Regions from separate parts of the Homo sapiens genome. Here regions 1 and 3 are each linked to region 2. The links are contacts of gene promoters, found by promoter capture Hi-C in blood cells and fetal thymus (Javierre and others, 2016). All regions are on one chromosome and are shown on one strand. Each heading gives the region's core, a stretch centred on a gene start or on the middle of the fragment in contact. The rest is flanking DNA. Distances are from core to core; before and after follow the strand shown.

Region 1 (3,087 bases), core at 157-2,656, 2.1 Mb before region 2:
ACTGTAACACACACTCACTGGGGCCTCCAGAGCTGTAAACGCTCAAGCCTAGACGCTGCTGCGGGATCAGCACTCCCCACAATCGTACCGTCTGCATGCTCCCCCTAGAGGTAGGAGCAGGGGGGCACCAGCGAAGCGAGCCACACCCCCATCGCTTGCCCTGCAAGGGGGATAAGGAAACTTTCTCTGTTTCAAAAGGTGATGCCAATGCCACGGATTCCCGCAGTGGAGGAGTCTAGCTGTTGGTGCCTTACATGGGTCCACTGGGATTCCTTTTACCAGGTTCAGTGTGCCCATTCCCCAGTGGTTATCTGTTTTGCTGCTAAAGTCTCTGAAGGACTGACCTTGGGCTATTGTTAATGTCTTGCCCCTCTCCACCACCTCATTCTCTGCAGTTGGTATCCAGTGACTCATAGATACAGAGGCACAAAAGCCCAGCCCCCTTGCCGCAAAGAGGGCCAAACTCAGGGTATAGTTTCTGCTTCGGAGCTCCTCAGCAGAGTGGGAGCAGGCTGGAGATAACCTCATCTGAAACCACATACCTTACTCTATCTTGCTTCCCTCACTTCCTGAAAGATTTCTCCAGAGGGCATTGCCTTGTACTTCCATATGAAACCCTATCTCAAGCCAGGCTTCCAGGAAACCCACTACAGACATTTGCAGGCCATACCCTGACAAGCAAGTCTAGAGTGCTCTAGAGGGAGCTAAAGCTGAATAGTGGACTTGGGGTCAAGAAAATTGGGTTTTTAAAAATTTAACCAACATTTTAGGCCAGGAGCTGTTACATGTTCTTTTAAAATATTAATCGAATCTTCACTCAGTGAAGTAGGAAACTGAAGTAGAAGCTGTAATTAGCGCCATTTTGCAAATGAAGAAACCAAGAGAACAAAATAAAAACATCCAAGGTTATCCACTAGAAAGTGGCAGAGCTGGGAAATGAACGCAGACAGACTGGTTCCATAGTCTGTGCTTCCAGTGCTAAATGCCCACTTCTTGCTTCAGTGACTGTGGGATGAACTTTTCAGACCCTCTAATGCTCCTCTGTGAAATAGGGTATATTATCTACTTTTCGGATTATTCAAGGATTAAGTGAGATACTTTATATAAAGTGCCCAGTACAGAGCTGGGCACATTTTAGGTACATCGTTGACCTCATTAAACTAGTTTCTTTGTTATTCACCTGGGATATCTGTCTCATCTCTGCCAACCAAGACCCACAACAGGTTTTAAAGACTATTGGCCAGCCTGATGTAGTATGTATGTTCTTTTGGTGAACAGCCTTCAGTTTCAGGCCTGTTTGCTTCTCATAGAGGTTGAACTTTTTGACCATACTTGTCAAAAGCCCTACCAGATTAGGTTCCCAGTGCTTTACTAGAGAACATAAAATCCAAGTTGAGTTCTGACATGCTGAGATTTCACTCTTCAGAAAGCTGATGGAAAATGTCTCTTATTTGGAGTGGGGAGATGGTTCCTGAGGGGCAACATGCAGGCCCTAGAAACATGTCAGGGTCTTTACATGGACCAAAGCCTGATTCAAAATGGCATGTGGGAAACTACGTTGATGGATGTTAACTTCCCAGTACACTAAGAGGAGAGTTCTCCTAGAAGCCATAGAAAAGAAAGGCTCATAGGCCTACTTAAGAATCAGGAAGCACCTGGTTTGAATTAATCTAGAATGCTTAACAAAGAGTAAGAAGAGAGAGATGAGGACACTAACACTTAGATTAGGCTGGAAGGACACCTAGAATATGCAATTTTTTTTTTTCTGGAACAGTGTCTCCCTGTGTCATTAGCATCTCCCTGTGTCATTAGCAATAATGGTTCACTGCAGCCTTGACCTCCTGGGTTCAAGTGATCCTCCCACTTCAGCCTCCTGAGTAGCGGGACTACAGGCAGGTGCCACCACACCCAGCTAATTTTTTTGGTAGAGATGGAGTTTTGCCATGTTGTCTAGGCTGGTATCGAACTCCTGAGCTTGAGCATTCTGCCTGCCTCAGCCTCCCAAAGTGCTGGGACTACAGGCGTGAGCCACTGCACCTGACCATGGACATGCCACGTTTATATGTCCTACTCTAGGCTAGGAGCTGTGTTGCATCAGCCTTGCCCACTGGCCAGAAGGACCAGAGTTAAAGTTTGAGTGAAGGGCCTGGCAGGTGGAAGGAGCTCAGAGCCAACATGCTCGCTCTGTGGGAGAGGTGCACGGTCAAGTGCACCGGGCTATAGATGTGACTCATCAATCAGCCAGTGCTTTGTGGGCAGAGGAGATGAGGGGCCAGAATGCGTGTCACCAATTTCAGCATCACAGATATTGAGAGCTTCCAGAGCCTCACGTTTATTTGGTGTAGTGTGAATATTTGGTGCTTCAGAGACATTTAAGGTTTTCTTGGTCCTTCTATGCCTTCTTATATAGGTTAAGCACACTTGTGCTCAGCTTACATTTTCTATGACAGGGGTGTCCGGTCTTTTGGCTTCCCTGGGCCACACTGGAAGAATTGTCTTGGGCCACACATAAAATACACTAACACTAATAATAGCTAAATCGCAAAAAAAACCACTCACAATGTTTTTAGAAAGTTTACAAATTTGTGTTGGGCCGCACTCAAAGCCATCTTGGCCTGCATGTGGGCCATAGGCCACAGGTTGGACAACGTCGTTCTATGCCTAACACATCGTAAGATATTTGTTTCTGTACCTAATTCTATCTATCCTTTTTTACTTGTTTCCTATTGCAGAATCAAATATTCTCTAATATAACATATATAATGAGGATATTCAACATGGAAAAATTAGTTTATAAAATAAATGCTGGCAAAAAGAGATGCTGGAAGATCTCAAATGGGATGGTGAGACAACTCAGGGATTAATAAAATGGAAGTATCTACCATCCTTCGGGCTGAGGGACAAGGTGAAGAGATGCTTGATACCAGAATCCAGCAATCAGGGCCACCTAGCTGGAGGTGGGACCATGGAGAGGTGATTTTTGAAGCAGAGAGAGAGACAGAAAGACGTCTCCCTGGCTTCTTGCCTTCTCCTGTTTTGTCTCCCATCAGTGGCTGTCATGGGTTAATGTAGTCAGAGGTCAGTTAG
Region 2 (3,196 bases), core at 646-3,145:
CTCGGTCATTTTGGGAGGACACAAGTCATCATTCGTCATAATGATTCTGAAAACTGCTCTCACACTACCTTATTAAGGCCTGTATTTCCCATCTAGAGGAAGTGTTGGGCTTTCACACTGATATGACTATAAACTTAGCAGAAATTCTTCTCACTATAAAACCCACGCGAGCTATTGAAGAATTCTTCAAGTCATACATTTGTTCTCAGTGACTGAGTGGTAACACTAATTATATTGCAAAATGGCTGTTCCTAAATTATTTTAGCCTTTAAAAAAATCCAAGGCCTTCCTGAACTGGGCTCTGACACAAACTGCCCCCACCTCTTCCCTCCTCAGCGAGTGTTCTAGAGGGGGCCAAACGAAGATGCGTGTGATTAGGAAGCTAGGCCATCAGTGTGCACAAGTTTGGGTGACCGAGTCTGCAGGTGGCAGCTACGAGTTATGGTGGACAAGCTTTATGCCAAGGATATTAGAGACAGAAACAGACCAAAGCTTCGAAGGCGCCCATCCCCACACACGGGGATCGCCTGTCACATCACATCAACCTTGCTTGTCTCAGAGGGAAGACCATTGAAAAGTTAAAAGGGAAAAGAGTTCAGGGATAAAGACGTTAAACCAAAGGGGGGTCCCTGAATCTCGGTGACGGGGGATGGGCACCAGGCTAGGTCTCGGCGAGTCCGTGAACCCGTGCATGTACATACTGCTTAGGAGCTGATTCACAGCTTTACTAAGGCTCCGTGGAGCCCCTAAACGTTAAATGATGCTGATTCGAGAAGAAAACGCACCAGCGGCACTGTGTCTGGCTTGGGCAGCCTCACCAGGTGCAGGAGATCAAGCTTTCCAGTTCCAATCCTCTCCCGAGCTCCTTGCGTAGGGTCAAGGATGCCCTCTCTTCTAGGAGCGGATTAACAGGGCAAAGTGGGAAAAAGAGCGAAAGAAATGTAGAGATGCCACCTTGGTGGGCAAATCTGAGATGCCTCCCGCGGAAAGAGACGCAACTTCCAGACCCGCTCCAGTTCTCCACTTGGGCGGGAAGCTTTGCGCTCCCAGCTGGAAGACGCCTCCCGAGCGCTCGCTGCGCCCTTCAAGCAAGATCCTAGCAACCAGAGCTTCAGGGTGGGGGTGGGGGCGGGGGGACGCTGACCGGCTCCCACCTGCTTGCTCCTAGAAAGATCCTAGCTCAGATTAAAGGGATGAAGCGCTAAGGTCGACTTGTCCAGAAAAGAGCTCACGGTGAGTTCACCACCCCCTATACCAATTCATCGAGTGGCCTCCTCCGCATCAGCAGAGCACCCCCGGGGATTCTGTCAGACATGAACCCCGAAACTGGAAGCGGCCGCTGCCTCTCTCCAGCCACACATCCTTACTTCGGAGTGCCCCTTCCAACTTCGGGTTGCACGCCGACCTCAGCACAGGCACTCTCCCCGGCGCCCCAGAGAGCCGGGATGAGGGGAGCTGCACCGAGCTGAGTTAACTCGGTACCAGCCGAGAGGCAGCGGCTGCCCACGAGACAGCACCTAAATACAGGGTCCAAATCCACCCCCACCCCATCCTCTCGCCCCTCCTTATCCCTTCCAACCCTTCTTACTCGACTAGAGCCGGCATCCAAGTCGGACCGGCGCGTCCGGAACTAGGTACTGATCGCCGCACCGGAGCCCGAGGACGCTCACCGTGCCGCCTCCCCGCGGGAGCCCCGGGAGCGGCCCATCACCTCTGCAGCCTCGCCAGGAGAAGAAAAGTTCCCACGTCTCTACCAGGAGAAGCCCGAAGCTCCTGCGGGAGAAGCCTGAAGCTGCTGCTGGAGAAGCGGCAGCTGAGGCAGGACTCCCGATGTTTGCCCGCAGCCGCGCGCGCAGTCGGTGCGCCCCGTCCAGGGCGGCGCGCAGCTAGCAGTGCGGAGCCGAGCCCAGCTAGCGCGCTGACCAGGAGGGGCCGGGCCCGCCGCGGAACGCGCTGATTGGCCGGGCCGCCCGGCTGCTCCTGTCCCTGCCTGGCCCCGCGGTCCACGTGGGCCGGCCTTCTCCCCGCCCCGCACCCCTGCTCAGGCGGCGCGCCCCCACTGCCGGCCTCCAGGCGCCTCTCCCGAGCGCCTCGCTGTGGCCACCACTCCGCAGGTGCTGAGCAAAAGGTATTCTTCCTGAATACCTGAGAGTCGCGTTGAGCTCCACATAAGGAAGACGGATTTAGGGTTCGGCTCTCACTCGAAACCATTCTCCACGCAGGACCCAAAGCGGTTTGCAAGCAGGATTTCTTAGCCACCCCGTGCAGTAGCACATTCATGAACTAATCTGGCTTCGCGTGTAATGTGCTTGTATGAGAGAGGAGAAAACTCGGCCCACGTATGAATACCTAAATACTTTTCTTTTTTAATGTATAAAATACAGCTGGGGCCGGGCTCGGTTGCTCACGCCTGTAATCCCAGCACTTTGGGAGGCTGAGGCGGGTGGATCATGAGGTCGGGAGATCGAGACCATCCTGACTAACACGGTGAAACCCCGTCTCTACTAAAAATACAAAAATTAGCCAGGCGTGGTGGCGGGTGCTTGTAGTCCCAGCTACTCGGGAGGCTGAGGCAGGAGAATGGCGTGAACCGGGGAGGCGGAGCTTGCAGTGAGCCGAGATCGCACCACTGCACTCCAGCCTGGTCGACAGAGCGAGACTTCGTCTCAAAAAAAAAAAAAAAAAAAAAAAAAATTCAGCTAAGACTTCTTTGACTCCCTCCTCCCACCCCATTCCTAGTCATGCCCTCCACTCTTCCGCAAGTGAAGTAACTGATAATCAGTGTCACTTAATGGTATTCATTTTACTGGGATTAGTTCATCTGATCTCTATTTTATAGATGAGATAACTGAAGCACAGAGAAGTTAAATCGTTTACTGAAGATTACACAGGTAACTAGTAAATCCATGCTCTTTAGTATGCAAAGCATGGCGTCGTAGAGCGGTCCCTTGAGAACACTTTAGAACTGCAGACTTTCAGGCCCCACCCCAGAAGTAGAATCTTCATTTTAACAAGATGCCCAAGTGGCTGGTGCATGCATAAAGTTAGAAAACGTTGCTCTGTACCACTATGCTGCTCACTGTCATTGGCTTGGCTTATCATCTTCTGGTCCTTTTACTCTGCATTGACATACAATTATGTGCCATCCTGCCCCTGCTGCACTCCAAAGTATGTTCACCCTTCTCTGACTCTACCC
Region 3 (3,126 bases), core at 164-2,663, 2.0 Mb before region 2:
GCAGGGTTGCTATGAGATTGTGCATGGGAAGACAAGGAACTCATAGAGTTAAGATGGCTTCACAGCCTGTGCCCTCACTTGGCTGTCTGGACCCTAGCCTTTCATAGTACAGCACTTTGCACATACGTCTAACAAGATCACCTGGGAAACTTGCAAATACGTGGTAGGTCTGGAGTGGGGCTGAGATTGTGTATTTCTAACAAGTTCCTAGGGGATCACACTTGGAATAGTGAGGCTCTAACCTTTTCATGTTAGTTTATTTGTCTGTTTCCCCAGTTGTCTCTGGGCAAAATGAAGGCAGGGGACAGGACCTTGTCTTATTCTCTTTCTGAGGGGTTTAGTACAGAGGTGACATATAGGTTGAAAGTAAATGCTTAAGAAGTGTAAGGAAGGAAAAAGGAAGGAAGGAGAGACGGAAGGAAGCAAGGAGGAAACAAAAGAAGGAAGGTCCGGGCATGGTGGCTCACACCTGTAATCCCAGTACTTTGGGAGGCTGAAATGGGTGGATCTCTTGGGCCCAAGAGTTTGATGCCAGCCTAGGCAAAGGACAAAACCCCATCTCTACAAAAAATACAAAAAATTAGCTGGGCATGGTGGCACTCACCTGGGGTCTCACCTACTCGGGAGGCTGAGTTGGGAGGATCACCTGAGCGTGGGGAGGTTGAGGGTGTCGTGACCTGTGATCATGCCACTGTACTACAGCCTGGGTGACAGAGCAAGATGCTGAGAAAAAGAAGGAAGGAAGAAAGGAAGGAAGGAAGGAAGGAAGGAAGGAAGGAAGGAAAGGGAAGAGAAGGAGGGAGGTGAGGGGAGGGACAGAAGGGAGGGAGGGAGGGAGGGAAAGGAGGGGAGGGGAGGGGACAGAGGAAAGAGGAGAGTGGGGAGAGGGAAGGAGGGGAAGGAGAGAATGGAAAGAAAGGAGAGAAAAGAAAGGTATGTAGTTTTGAGCAGAAAGGGGTTGTACACTGAAGGCGTGTAAGCATGTAGTTGTCATAACTGGACAGATTTTCCAGATACATTTCTGCCTCTAAGATCAAAGTTTCTTCCCTCTCTGAGACTCAAGGAAGGCACTCCGCCAGAAAAAGGAGAGGAAATAGAAGTCACCAAGCTGACCACTAATCAAGAGACTGAAGTTTGTCTCCAAGAGACAATTCTCTAATTTCTACAAAATGAGAACATTTACTGTATAATGAAATTCATTGTGCAGAACATCTCCTGAGCATAAAAATCTACAAGACGTAGACAGCTGCTCATAGGGCCATTTTTAAACACCTTCTTTTGGAGTAGGCTGTTCTTTGACATGGACTGCAAAGTTTTACTTATGCAGTTATTTTATCACCTTTATCGCAAATGCATAAAAAGTAAAGACTCAAGGAAAGAAGGAAGGTTCTAAAAATATTCTTCATAGAGGCAGACACAAACTGGGGTTGAAAAGCCCAATTATCTTCTGTCACTTATATCACTCTAGTTGGAAACAGCTTTAACATCGGGAGTGACCACATATTACCTATCCTGCTCAGAGTCACCACTGCATTTACTTTCTAGTAGATGATTTAACAGACAGACAGAGAATGTGAGTGCCACTGGTTAGAACATGGTTTCTAGGTGTCACACTATTTCATCAGGCAATGATGAATCACACTGCGGCTCTCACATCGACTTTCCCACGACCTCTGAGCAACTAGAGAAAGCCAAAGAACAATTCTGGGAGTTTGATTTCCCTAACAAAGCAACAGAAGGCCCAGATTAAACTGGCCTCTTTGAAACTTAAAAGGAACCACCATTTTGTCACCTTTTAGGGGGGCAAGCTGATTAATGGGCAGCGAATAATCACAAGAGAATTCACTGATTAAATGTGTAGCCATTGTAAATGCAGATCCAAACCCTTAGAAAGAAATAAATGCAGACCCTTCTTGAGTTTCGCTGATTCTGCTCATATGTTTTGTATTTACAAAGAAAATAAAAATTGTCAAGGCAATTTTTAAGGAAGAGCTTAAGAGGAAAAAGCAAACCTTTAGCACAAGTTGCAAATGCAGTTAGCTTATTAAACATTATCTTATTCAACCCATCTTATGCCACATCCCAAAAAGGGCACAGAAACTGGAAAAAAAGCAACCCATCCTGACTCAAATGTCAACTAAAATGTCTGAAAGTTTCCATGATGATGTTGATAATGGTGATGATGACAGCAACTAAGTTGTCATCAACTGGATACTCTAAGTATTCTTCATATATTAAGTTGTCTACTCCTCAACAAAATATAAAATAGATGCTTATTAACTCCATTTTTACAGATGAGGAATCTGAGACATACAGAGTTTAAGTAACTTGTCTAAAATTACATAGGCGGTTAATGGCACAATTTACTCAACTTTGGGTAATGTGGCCTTGGTACATGTGCTTTTGAGTCCTCCTAGCATTGATATTGATGATATGAATAAACTAAATGATGTGCTCCCATGACACTGCAGTTTCCATGGTATTTACTTCAACTGTCTATGAAGTAGCTCTCCTGGCTCTAATAGTCCATAAGACTGTAAACCTCATGGAATAGTCCCATTCCATGAGCAATGGTTCAATAGGCAAATGACTTTAGTTGAGTGGTTCAGTCCATATCAATCTAATAATAAGTGCCTATTAAGTCCTGGTTGTGGCACAAGAGAGGAGAGAGGATGGTGAGGGGAGAACATTAAAGAAACATAGAAAGATGGCCCTGTCCTTATGTCACATCTTCTAAAAGATGTGCTTGAATTAAAGATGCTTGGATTTTGAGAGGTTTTGCCAAAGAGTACTGTATTACCACTATAAAGGGAAGCCAAGAGTGATAGAGGTAATTTTCACCATCCAGCATCCTCTCACTCTTCCATTGGTAACTGCATCCTGAACTTCTTTCAAAGTACCTAATCTCCTGTTTCCCCAAGATGCACAGTCTTGCTTTGATGTCAGAGGATAGGTAAGTGCCCTGAATCCTGCCAGAGTCATCCTCTTGGAAATTCAAATTTTGAGCAGAGTCATACATGGACAAAAAAACTTCAACATCAATGAACATTTCATACATTCATCCTCGGTATCTGCCCCTTGCAGGTACTAGAGTCCAGAGATGCTCAAGTCCCTGCTATAAAATGG

What was found. Contacts are between HindIII fragments. The CHiCAGO score rates a contact against its expected background, and 5 or more counts as called.
Region 1: a contact is called between a fragment that was not itself captured here and the fragment with the promoter of TAFA4 in region 2, in 1 of 17 cell types (total CD8 T cells). The highest score is 5.2, in total CD8 T cells.
Region 3: a contact is called between a fragment that was not itself captured here and the fragment with the promoter of TAFA4 in region 2, in 3 of 17 cell types (naive B cells, total CD4 T cells and total B cells). The highest score is 6.4, in naive B cells.

What each region holds. Positions count from the first base shown.
Region 1 is chr3:66,858,753-66,861,839 of GRCh38, forward strand. The region is part of intron 2 of LOC105377144 (a long non-coding RNA gene); the gene reads right to left. Among named protein-coding and RNA genes, the nearest start is that of KBTBD8, 140 kb to the right of the region's middle. The HindIII fragment of the contact is 5,395 bases long and covers 1-3,087 here.
Region 2 is chr3:68,930,652-68,933,847 of GRCh38, forward strand. TAFA4 (TAFA chemokine like family member 4) reads right to left here and starts at 1,896. Exons shown (of 6, transcript NM_182522.5): 1 at 1,589-1,896. The HindIII fragment of the contact is 2,333 bases long and covers 1,035-3,196 here.
Region 3 is chr3:66,883,936-66,887,061 of GRCh38, forward strand. The region is part of intron 1 of LOC105377144 (a long non-coding RNA gene); the gene reads right to left. Among named protein-coding and RNA genes, the nearest start is that of KBTBD8, 110 kb to the right of the region's middle. The HindIII fragment of the contact is 3,901 bases long and covers 1-3,126 here.